Regions from separate parts of the Homo sapiens genome. Here region 1 is linked to region 2. Evidence: promoter capture Hi-C in 16 types of primary human blood cells and fetal thymus (Javierre and others, 2016). All regions are on one chromosome and are shown on one strand. Each heading gives the region's core, a stretch centred on a gene start or on the middle of the fragment in contact. The rest is flanking DNA. Distances are from core to core; before and after follow the strand shown.

Region 1 (6,077 bases), core at 344-2,843, 340 kb before region 2:
CTTCTACACATACACATAGGTAGAGTAATTCATATCTTACTAATCTGGAATTAGTAGTCATCAAGACAGGCTTTGAGCTTTACCTGTGCTTTATCTGTAAAAATTGGACTTGGCTAACAAATTGAAGAGCTTTAATTGAAGTTCAGGGAAGAATGTTAAGCTCCTTTAGAGAAAAGAAAGGTTTTGAAGCACTTCCTTTTTATTTTAACCAAATAGATTATATGTTACACATTACTTTCATGTATTCACTAAAACAGATTTCATAATTTATACTTAGTAAAATATCCAGGCAAAATTTTGACAGCCTAGTTTGTGTTAGTATTTACTACAGATAATGGAAACATCATGTTAGTTTAATATGTTCCGTAATTTTATCTTTGTGTTCATTTACCTTTCTTCTACATCTGAGTGAGATTTGCCTGCATATGTGAGTTCACATGCCCAGCTTGCTGTGGAGCCATTTCCTGTTCCTGAATGAGATCAAGTTTTCCTGAGAATGGACCAGTAAAACCCATTCTTATATCAGGGCATGTGATCTCAACAGAGGCTGTGTCTAAGTTGATGCTGATATTCATGTAGGGCTCAGCAGACCTCAAAAATAATTTTTCTAAAATGGCGGTCTCCCTGCCAATGTAATCTCAGTTTAACATGCTGAATGCTTAGTTTTTCTGGGTCTTCTCTGAACCTGCTCTGACTTCAGGACTAGTACACATCTCTACAACCTCTGCCGGCCTGCCCCCATGCTGGCCACTGTTATGCCTAGCTGGATTCTGGTGAGCCTTGAAACCCTCATTAAATCACAAGAGATAAATCTTATTCCTTACCTGTAACAGTTCTTCAGGTCTTCAAACATGTCTGGAACTTTGGCCATCTTGACTTCTGCAACAGAGAACACCAGCCACCATCAGCTCAGCCAGCCTCTAATCCAGATATCTGTGAGGGGAGCCCCTCCTCTTTGTGCTTCCTGAAAACTTTGTTGAATGACTTAGTCCACATTCAGCATTTTCTCCATCTTCTAGCTCCTTTGAATTAGTTTGCTATGTACCTGTCTCCTTTATTAGATCGTAAACTTCTTTTAGAATGTTTTATTTATGTTGGTATTCCTTATGTGCCCAACCTAATGTATTGCCAGAACAGGCATTCAATCAATGAAAGTTTGAAGAGGTTACAAAAACACCACAAGAATAAGGTATTTGCCTTACACAGAGGTAAGAGAGAGACAGAGTTGGAAATTTTCAATTTTCTCCTAATAATTTTGGATAGTAGAGATTCCCTCCCATGAGAAGCCTCAGTTGTATTCACCCATGCCCTCATAGGAAACTAGTTCTGCTGTCCCTCAGTATAACGAATCAGTCCTTATCAGCAAAATGAGAGAATCATTTTCTGAAATCTGACTGTAATTCTAGGTCACATACCAAACCAGGGAGGGACAAGAAAAGAAAGGAGAGGCTGTAGCTTTAGAGAAGGCAATGTGAGAGAAAACAGCCAAAGAGAAAAACAACAACAGAAAATACTTTAATAGCCAGAGATGTGAGGACAATACCTTTGCTGACTCAAACGCCAATGAAATGACTCCCTCTCTGGCTGGCAGCTTAAGCCTGAGTCAGTCTTCTTCGCCTTTTGTAATTGTCTTAAGTAGGCGTGGCTACGTGGCTACAAGTGCGTCGTCAAAACGGGGAATTTACAGGGAAGAATTCAGTTTTGTATTTTTCTATGTTCATTCAACTCGATACTGGCTAAAATAGTGAAAGATGGCATAGCTGATATTATTGTTGTTTGCAGATATTCCAGAAGTTATTGATTTGGTTCATTTATTCACCCCTTTGCTTTATAAGATGACAAACATGTAGTCTTAGAAAAAGGGAAGCGCGGGAAACTTATCAAGTTTCTAGGAGGAAGGGAGAAATCGTGAAATCCGAAGTCAAGGGGCTAGATTTGGAGAGGAATTTATTAATAATAATAGTTCTAATAGTAGCTGTAGTTGTGTTCTGGCTGAATTTGTTGATTGTGCTCCAGGGTGAATTGGCAGAATACTTGGCAGCTCCTGGCAACTTTTGAGGGAAAATGAGCCATCTTTTCTGAAGAGGGAAGTTTGCTTGATTAAGGCATAAATCACCTCAGAGTTTGGGGTGACAAGCTCCTGGTTAGGGCAGGGTAGAGAAGAGAACAGTGGTATTTGAGCACAAAGAAGTCTTGATCCTCTTACTCTTCTGAATATTGTCAACACATTTCCTATAGAGGGGATGGAGCTTCAGGAGAGAACTCTCCACCCTGGCCCTGTTACAGTAAAGTAGCCCTCTACCAAGGACCAGAGAGAAGCCTGGTCTTCTGTAGGATATGCCCAAGGTGTGTCTTCTGTAGAAGAAGGTGTGTGCAAGCCCCGGGAGGTATGCGTAAGGCCTCAGCCAGAAGCCAGTGGCTAAGTTTGGGAATGGAGATTGGGAGAAAGGAAGGCATGGATTTTTACATATGAGCCTTCAATGGTGTTGCCTGGTTACTATTATTAAAGAATTTCTCAGCTTTTATAATTCCTGTGGCCAGCCTAGTTCAGGTGGTAGAACACCAGACTCTTAGCAAATGAATGTTTTGGGTTCCCAGTTGGAGTTTAAGCCATGTATATTTTAAATAGAGGAAATGAACTAGGTGTGATGGCATGCCCCTGTAGTCCCAGCTATTCAGGAGGCTGAGGCAGGACAATCACTTGAGGCCCAGAGTTTTAGTCCAGTGTGGGCAACATAGTGAAGCCCCCATCTCTAAAAAATAATAAACGCAAAAAAGCATGGATCTGGGAGGAAAGCAGCTTGTGTGAGTTGGATAAAGTATTCCCTCTGTTCCTGTTTAATTGTAAATAATGGGGTTGGTTAGGTGTCATAAGGTCTATTGCAGGTGCAAAATCTCTTATTCTGATTTAATGCCAGTCTAATTCTCCTGGTCATAGACCTGGTGCTATAATAGTTATAACAGGAGCCACAGAAATAACCACACTTGGATGTAAGCAATGTAAGTGTAGCACCAGACTAGGGTAGAAGCTTGGGTGTCTAAGGATGAATCCTGAAGCAACAGTGATGCCAGCCAACTGGCTACATTTCTGCTTACCTTGGTTCCTCTTTAGGCAACACAGAAATGTTAATCCTGATTAACCCTCTCCTCCTGAGAATCTTGTGAGGGCTATTGCTAAGGAACAATTGCAAAGCACATTGTGAATGTGAGCTGCTATGGAGATGCAACTAAACAAAAATAATGACAATGCTAATGATGGCTTCAGTCACTCAAGAACCTGTATAGTCATCATTATAATGCCTCAGTTCACCAAAGAAAATATAGTTCTTATGAAAATACTGGCTTGAAAGCTTCAACAGGGATAACATTTTCAGGTGAAGGCCACCATTGAAAGCCTGAAGATATTTAGCTTCTGGGAGCAATGCATACCATCTCTTTGGTAATCCAGGAAAAAAACCCTGGTTCCACCAACATAGGCAATACCTATCCTGGTCCCATCCTCACTCCTCTGTTGTAAATAATTCCCCAAAGGTGGTTGTTGAATTTTTCAAAGAGAACTTGGTTGAGAAACAGCTAACTTGGGTTAGAATATCACCCAACCTTTTCCTTCACATGATCTTCTTGTAAATTGATTTTTAAAGGAAAACTAGGGTGGGTGAGGTTCAGAGAGAGGTGGGTCCTTGCATTGTTTTGGGGAGCCCGCTTTTCTGGGACTGTGAACAACAGTCACCTCTTCTAGGGAAGGGACAGTGGAACGTACTGGGCAGGGCTCTACTGGGTAGATAGTGGAACATACTGGGCAGGCCTGTGGTGTGTGCGTTGGGAGCCATCCTGTGACAGGGACTTTGGGTGGCTTCAGGCACCCACCTCTCGACTCTGAGGAGGCCTCAGGAAACCCTTAATGAGTCACTGTCATCTAAATCATTTAGGAAAAAAAAATTATTGTGCACTTATCCTATGCCATGGGTTTTGCTAGGAATCAGCAGTTTTTCCCCATGATCCACAAAATCAGATATGCAAGGTGAGATGATCTATGTTGGTGGGTGACTGGATATGTTTTATAAGATTGGAGCTTGTGGGTCCAAAGAATCACTGTGATGCGTTTCATGTGACAATTGTTTTATAGTTTACCTGCACTATCTCACTGCCTCCTCACTGCACCTACAAGAATTAGCTGATACTATCCTCTTTCACAGCTGAGGACCCTTGAAGAGGTTAAGTGACCAACCCAAGATCACAAGACTGATGAAACCAGTGCTTGAACTCAAGCTTCTGATTCCGAGTCCAATCTTCTCTTTCCACTGCATAAAGATACTCGAGTCTCTTATCACCACCAACACCAAGTGATGGCTTATAAAGATCATCCTTAGGGTCTTTCCCCCTCAAACGTGCTATCATTCAGTAACTCTAGGATCCTTGTTAAAAAAAAAAAAAAAACGGGGGTTGCGGAGAAGGGATTGAAATATCTCCTCTCCCTGTCTTCACCTCCTCTGATGAAATCTGATTTTATTCTGTGATATGTAAGACCTGAATGAAGGTGACTGAAGTAATTGGGTACATGGTTAGTGGTGGAATCCGGATGTGAACCTGAGTCATGGTCTTGCCATTGTTCCTTGAAGACAGGAAATATTTGTAAATATATTTGGAAGCAACTTTAAAATTGTTGCATGTGGTTGGGTCTAACAGAATCACTTGAATGAAGAGAAAAACATAACTTTTTCCTGTGAATTTTCAGGGAAATGCAATTATTTCCTTTCACTTGGTATAAAAGCTCTTCAGAGGAATAAAGCATGCATGAGCCAACACATGCAGAGACAATTGAGCCTTTAGTCGCAACTCATGCTCTAGTTATAATGTGTTTTTAAATTCCATGATAGCTACAGAGAAGGAGGAAAGGACTTAACATAACAGCCTACCATGTTCAAGGGATTATAATACATTATCTCATTTAATCCTCTCATGAAACCTGTGAGGTAGATGTTCTTATCACATCTTACAGAAGAGGAAGTCATGGTCTAGAGAAATTAAGCAATCTGCCCAAGATTGCAAGGTTACCAAGTTTCCTAAATGGGATCCAGACACCAGGGCATACACTTCTTCAACCATGAGGATGTCTCTTTTGCTTAATGTAGCTGCTTCCTTTCCTGTGTTCTTTTAAATTAAGTTTTAATTATTCTGCTTTATCTTAGTTTATTGAAGGTTCCAGAATATGTTAGAGAAGGATGCATGTCGGAGACCATCTAGTTTAAACTCTTACTTTTATAAAAGAGGAAACAGGGTACAGGGGAAGTATGGCCCGAGGTCACATGGAGAATTCATATGAGAGTGTGAGGTAAAATTAAAACTCAATTTCTTGAGTTCTAGTTCAAAGTATCCTACTACTTAGTGACCCTGGTGCCTTAGTGAAGAGAGAAAGAAAAGAAGAAATAATCTCTAATGGCTTCTCACCCATAAGTAAAAAAGGAGTGGCTGGGTGCCGTGGCTCATGCCTGTAATCACAGCACTTTGGGAGGCTGAGGTGGGTGGATCGCCTGAGGTCAGGAGATCGAGACCAGCCTGGCCAACATGATGAAACCCCGTCTTTACAAAAAATACAAAAAATTAGCTGGGCGTGGTGACAGGCATCTGTAATCCCAGCTACTCGGGAGGCTGAAGCAGGAGAATCACTTGAACCCAGGAGGTGGAGGTTGCAGTGAGCCGAGATCATGCCATTGCACTCCAGCCTGGGCAAGAGTGAGTCTCCATCTCAAAAAAAAAAAAAGTTACAAAGAATGAAACCCCGTTAAGTAAGTAAAATCAGCTATGATTCCTGCTATCCTGAAAGCTGACAGTGAAGACCTTCATCAACACTTTTCTAAATGAGTAGATAATTACAAACTGAGATAAGCACGGTAAGGGCGTGTGACATAAGCACATGTCTTAGACTGGGAGTGGACAGTTCAGTGGAGAGCAAAGAGGGAAAATTCCAGGCTGAGATAAGTCCCTGGGGGTCAAAAAGGGTGGAAGTAGGTAATTGGGAGTCTGGAGCTCAGAGAGAGGAGGGGGAAGGAGTGAGGGGTATAGGAGTGGAGAGTGAG
Region 2 (6,158 bases), core at 3,388-5,887:
TATTGGAGATTCAATTGTTAAACTTTTACCAGCACAACACTGCCCTGCCTTCAGAGTCAATGACCCTATCCAAGTTTAATCCATCTGTCCACTGTCTCCAACACGATCTTTATAAAACACACCTGACAACATTACCCTTTTATTCAGTTTTTTAAAAGATAAGTTTCCAGCTCATCGGGCTGGCTTTAAAGGCCATTTCTCCTCTGGACCTCACCCAACTTTTCAAATCACTTTTCCTACCCCTACCTCTAAATGCTACTCAAACTCCAGCCATCCTGAATAATAAGACTTTTGAAAAGTAGATTATGGGCTGGGCACAGTGGCTCACACCTGTAATCCCAGCACTTTGGGAGGCCAAGATGGGTGGATCACCTGAGGTCGGGAGTTCGAGACCAGCCTGACTAACATAGTGAAACCCTGTCTCTACTAAAAATACAAAATTAGTTGGGGGTGGTGGCACAAGCCTGTAATCCCAGCTACTCAGGAGGTTGAGGCAGGGGAATTGCTTGAACCTGGGAGGCGGAGGTTGCGGTGAGCCTAGATTGCTCCACTGCACTCCAGCCTGGGCAACAAGAGCGAAACTCCATCTCAAAAAAATAAATAAATAAATAAAGTAGATTACATCAGATACCTCTGGCCTAGGTTGTTTATGACCAACTCTCCTGCTGAGAATAACTAGAAAAGCTAGACAAAACATATTTCCAAAAGATCTCTTTGGAGGCATCAGAGAATGGCCAAGGCTGTAAGGAACTGCCTGAGCCCAGAGAGGTGGAGCCCAGCACTGGTGCCCTTTACTCCTGGGGACATGTGCTGGTTTCAAAAACTTCAGCTGAGTTTTTGAGCATTCATGGAACTTGGTGGGGGAGATGAAATTTGTACCTTAAATCCTGCCTACAGGGAGGGTCCCTGATAATCCCCACCCAATTTGGAAATCTGGGTCAGCCTTCACAGGTACTGAAGCCCTCCTCTGAATGATCTCAAGTCCTGCTAGGGTAGAGGTTACCTGCTTTTGAAAGGCTCCTGGCCTACCTGTGCAGCAGGAGCAAAAGTGAACCATCTCAGGGTACAGATAACAATCATCCAGAGCCTTGAATGACCTCTACTGTGCTTAATATATAGTATTCAGCAGTCAGTAAAAAGGATTTAGGCACATGCAAGATGACCTGTGTATCAGGGAGAAATAGGCAATAAATTGAGATCCAGCAGGGATTTGAATCATGGATTTGAATCAGGGGCAGCCTTCGAAAGAACTGTGGAGAATATACTCAGATTTAAAACATAAGATTGGAATTTTTGGCAGAGAACTAACAACTGTACAAAAAAGGAACCAAATGGAAATCCTAGAACTGAAAGATGCAATTAACCGATGTTGAGAAATAGCCAACATCTATTGAACACTTCCCATGTGGACAGCTGTGCTAAACACTTTACAGGCATCAACATAAGATGTGTCCCCTTACAGCAGTGCAGTGTCCCTCCTAAGACATGGACAGCCTGGTTTCCCTATCTCTCTGCTTCATCAAAACCCCTTTACGTGGGGCTTAGACACTCCTGTTGTCTCTAGTGTCTAGTAGCACAGGGCTCAGCACATGGAAGCCACTAGATACAATTTGATGACCAGGACCTCCGATGAAAGCCATGGGTGCTGATTGGGAAGGCATTGTCTTTTATGTGCTATGGTCTTAAAGCTTCATCCAGGAAGCAGAACTCGGGGGGTGCTGAGGACCCAGAACCGAGAATAAGATTAGTCAGAGATTTCCTGTGGGCAGAAATCATAAGGACGCCAACTGTTTGGGTGAGATAAGACGAAACCAAGAGTGGACTTGTGGCCAGAAGCGTGAGGAAGAGGGAGAGAGCTTCCCTTGTCCCCTTTCTTCCTCTCCCTAAGCCACAGTGATTGACAGCCCCCCCCCTTTGGAGTCAGAGCAGGCTTGAGACTGGACTGGGAAAGGAGGGTGGGTCAGGATACAGAGCAGGAAGGCTGGGAGTGCAGGGCAGGAGCAAGGGGCTGGGGCATTCATTGTGCCTGATCTCTCCCACTTTACCTGGGGTAAAGAAGCATATGCAAAAGCCACGGTGTGAGTATTTCCCAAGTGCCAGGGTCAGGGCATGATTCATCACGTGCAGCATTTCATTCAATCCTTATAGTAACCGATGATGTGGCTTCTATTATTAGCTCTATCAGATAATGAAACTGAGACCAAGACAGGCTCTGCACATTGTGTGGGGTAATGACACAGGGGGATTCAGACCTAGACTCCATAACTCCTGCCCCAGGGACCACCCCCACCCTCACCCTGTGCATGTCGACAAAGGACAGACTGGGCCACTTCTCAGGACACAGCGGGGAAATGACACAGAGCAGGGAGGTTCCAGGAGCCCCGAGCGTCTTTTCTCCAGGAGAATACTCTCTGAATTCAGACTGGGGTCAGAGAAACATTTACCCAGGAGCCGCAGTGTGGGTGGGGCTTTTTACTTGAAACGCTGTCTGAAGGCAGTGGCCAGGATGGAACTCTCCACCCTACCTTGGCAAGCCACTTCTCTTCTGCAATCTGTAAGGACATTGTTGAGAGAATTATGGTCTTCCAATTCCGGAGGGTTGAAGAAAGACAAATAGGAGAGAACCTATCATAGTCAGGTGCTAGCTGCCTTCTCTTTCAGAGAGTGTGAGAATAAAGTGATACACTTGATTATTAGCAAATACTTTGGAAATTTTAAACGCTAATATTCAACACACTCTGGAAGAGGCAAATAAGTAGACAGGTTCATATACATCATCTCCTTCAGCTAGTCCTCACAAAAACAAACAAATGAATAAACAAAATTCTTCTTTGGCCCTCATAGGAAGACACTGTTTCTTGAACGTGTTTCAAAAAGGATGGGTGACTCACTCAAGGTCACACTGTTTATGAGGACAGTACAGGAATACAGACATGCCATTTTGCCTGAAAAAATCCATCACCCAGGGAGGTGACACAATTTTGCAGAAATGTTCTATTTCCTCTGAAGGATACATTCTTTAAACCTTTGGGAAATTCATTCATAGTCTTCCTCCTTTGAAGGATTAACTCTCTGGACACAAAGTGTTTGATTCTGATTTGTTGGTTGGAAGATGTGTTGGTTGAGAGAAAGATTCTGATTTGTTGGTTGAAAATAGACTCATCAAGATCAACTGCTGTAGTAGTAAATATTTTGACATTTTGTCTGTATTCCTGTGCTGCCCTCACAAGCTGCATCACCTTGAGTGAGTCATTCATACTTTTTTGTTTGTTTTTGTTTTGGAGATGGAGTCTTACTCTGTTGCCTAGGCTGGAGTGCGGTGGCGTGATCTTGGCTCACTGCGACCTCCATCTCCTGGGTTCAAGTGATCCTCCTGCCTCAGCCTCCCGAGTAGCTGGGATTACAGGCACATGCCACCATCCCTGCTAATTTTTGCATTTTCAGTAGAGACGGAGTTTCACCATGTTGGTCAGGTTGGTCTTGAACTCCTGACCTCAGGTGATCCGCCCACCTCAGCCTCCCCAAGTGCTGGGATTACAGGTGTGAGCCACCGTGCCCAGCCCAGCCATCATTTTTGAAACACGTTTGAGAAATAGTGTCTTCCTTTGAGGGCCAAGGAGACATTTTTTTTGTTTATTTGTTTGTTTTTGTGAGGACTAGCTGAAGGGGGTGATGTATATTAACCTGCCTACTTATTTGCCTCTTCCCAGAGTGTGATGAATATTAGGGTTTAAAGTTTCTGAAGCATTTGTTAATAAAGCCCGGGGCTGGAGGTCAGAAGACCTGGATTTCTCTGCATACTTTTGCCATCAGCAAGCTGTGTGACCTTGGACAGATCCCTTTTTTGTCTAAATCTTTCTGAGTCTTCTTGAAAACAATGCCAGGTTGGGACAGGATGATTGCCAAGCTCCCGTCCAGCTCTAAAACACTGCAACGTATGCTTCTGCACCAGCACTGTCCATCCTGTAGATCATGCAGAAATTCTCTTCAACTTTTTCCTACCCATAAAATAGGAGCATGCTTACCTTTTTCCTAATGTTCCAGGCCCCGGGTCTAGAATATTGTAAGTAAGGAAGTTAATGTGTATCAGAGCCCATTATGGGCCAGAAGTTCTCCTCTTCCTTCCTACACCTGCTTCCTCCCTCCCTCCCTCCCTCTTTCCCTTCCTTCCTTCCATCCATTTGTGAAGAAGACATGATCACCCTCATTCTGAGAGTGAAGAGACAGAGGCTCAACTAATGAAATGATTTGTTCAAGGTCACACGGGTGGCACAAGGCAAGTGGCAGAGGTTGAATTTAGACCCATTCCTGTCCAAATGCTGAGTTTATGTCATCGTCCCGAGACCATAACTTTAAAGATGTAAGATAGTGGGAAAAGAGTTGATTTCAAAGCACCTCTCAGAAGGACTCACTTTACATCAGGGGTCAGCAGACTCAGGCCAAATCCGGTCCATTCCCCGCTTTTGCAAAGAAAGTTGTAGTGGAACACAGCTAGGCTTATTGATTTATGGATTGCCAACGTCCTTTTGTGAAACAGACAGCTGAGCTGAGTAATCGTGGCGCACAAAACCTAAAATATTTACTATCTCGTCCTTTACAGAATGTTTGCCAATCTATGGTCCGGAGTCCAAGGCTGTCCATTTTTCAAAGAACACAAAGTGACATGAGACTGTCCCATGTGCAGGGAGCCCTATCATTTTATTATGAAAAAACGGCCTTTCTGCTCAAATCTGTTTTTTAAAAAGTCAACAAACAGACTCTGGGTACCTGTCAGGAACAGTAGGGAGTTTGGTTTCCATTGTGCTCTTCTTCCCAGGAACTCAATGAAGGGGAAATAGAAATCTTAATTTTGGGGAAATTGCACAGGGGAAAAAGGGGAGGGAATCAGTTACAACACTCCATTGCGACACTTAGTGGGGTTGAAAGTGACAACAGCAAGGGTTTCTCTTTTTGGAAATGCGAGGAGGGTATTTCCGCTTCTCGCAGTGGGGCAGGGTGGCAGACGCCTAGCTTGGGTGAGTGACTATTTCTTTATAAACCACAACTCTGGGCCCGCAATGGCAGTCCACTGCCTTGCTGCAGTCACAGAATGGAAATCTGCAGAGGCCTCCGCAGTCACCTAATCACTCTCCTCCTCTTCCTGTTCCATTCAGAGACGATCTGCCGACCCTCTGGGAGAAAATCCAGCAAGATGCAAGCCTTCAGGTAAGGCTACCCCAAGGAGGAGAAGGTGAGGGTGGATCAGCTGGAGACTGGAAACATATCACAGCTGCCAGGGGCTGCCAGGCCCCAGAGGGCCTGAGAACTGGGTTTGGGCTGGAGAGGATGTCCATTATTCAAGAAAGAGGCTGTTACATGCATGGGCTTCAGGACTTGTGTTTCAAAATATCCCAGATGTGGATAGTGCGACCGGAGGGCTGTCTTACTTTCCCAGAGACTCAGGAACCCAGTGAGTAATAGATGCATGCCAAGGAGTGGGACTGCGATTCAGGCCTAGTTGAATGTGCTGACAGAGAAGCAGAGAGGGGCACCAGGGGCACAGCCCGAAGGCCCAGACTGATATGGGCAAGGCCTGTCTGTGCTGACATGTCGGAGGGTCCCACTCTCCAGGGACCTTGGTTTCCCCGTCTGTGACATCTGTGACATGAGAGTCACGATAACTCCTTGTGTGCCTTACAGGGTTGTTGTGAAAATTAAATGCACAGATAATAGCGTAACAGTATTCCGTGCATTGTAAAGAGCCTGAAAACCATTATGATTTGAAAATGGAATCGGCTTTGTGAGACCATCACTATTGTAAAGATGTGATGCTGATAGAAATGACAGGACTGCTTGTGCATGCCCTCTGCAGTGTGACATTCCAGCAGTGAAATCATGTTGGGGTGACTTCTCCCCCACTCTGACCTTTATGTTTGTCTGGGCCGAGGCTGCAAGTCGGGCTCTGTGGGTGTATGAGTGACAAGTCTCTCCCTTCCAGATATGGGGACTGTCTGCTTCCCTAGGTTGCCTCTCCCTGCTCTGATCAGCTAGAAGCTCCAGGAGATCCTCCTGGAGGCCCCAGCAGGTGATGTTTATCCCTCCAGACTGAGGCTAAATCTAGAAACTAGGATAATCACAAACAGGCCAATGCTGCCATATGCAAAGCACTTTGGTTTGCC

Evidence for each region. Contacts are between HindIII fragments. The CHiCAGO score rates a contact against its expected background, and 5 or more counts as called.
Region 1: a contact is called between the fragment with the promoter of IL1A here and a fragment that was not itself captured in region 2, in 2 of 17 cell types (M1 macrophages and neutrophils). The highest score is 5.8, in M1 macrophages.

What each region holds. Positions count from the first base shown.
Region 1 is chr2:112,782,900-112,788,976 of GRCh38, forward strand. IL1A (interleukin 1 alpha) reads right to left here and starts at 1,594. Exons shown (of 7, transcript NM_000575.5): 1 at 1,544-1,594; 2 at 825-879. The coding sequence starts at 871. The HindIII fragment of the contact is 4,198 bases long and covers 1-3,027 here.
Region 2 is chr2:113,122,536-113,128,693 of GRCh38, forward strand. It overlaps IL1RN (interleukin 1 receptor antagonist), which reads left to right and starts at 5,063. Exons shown (of 4, transcript NM_173842.3): 1 at 5,063-5,205. The coding sequence starts at 5,090. RefSeq lists an enhancer at 1,899-1,968. The HindIII fragment of the contact is 5,902 bases long and covers 1,687-6,158 here.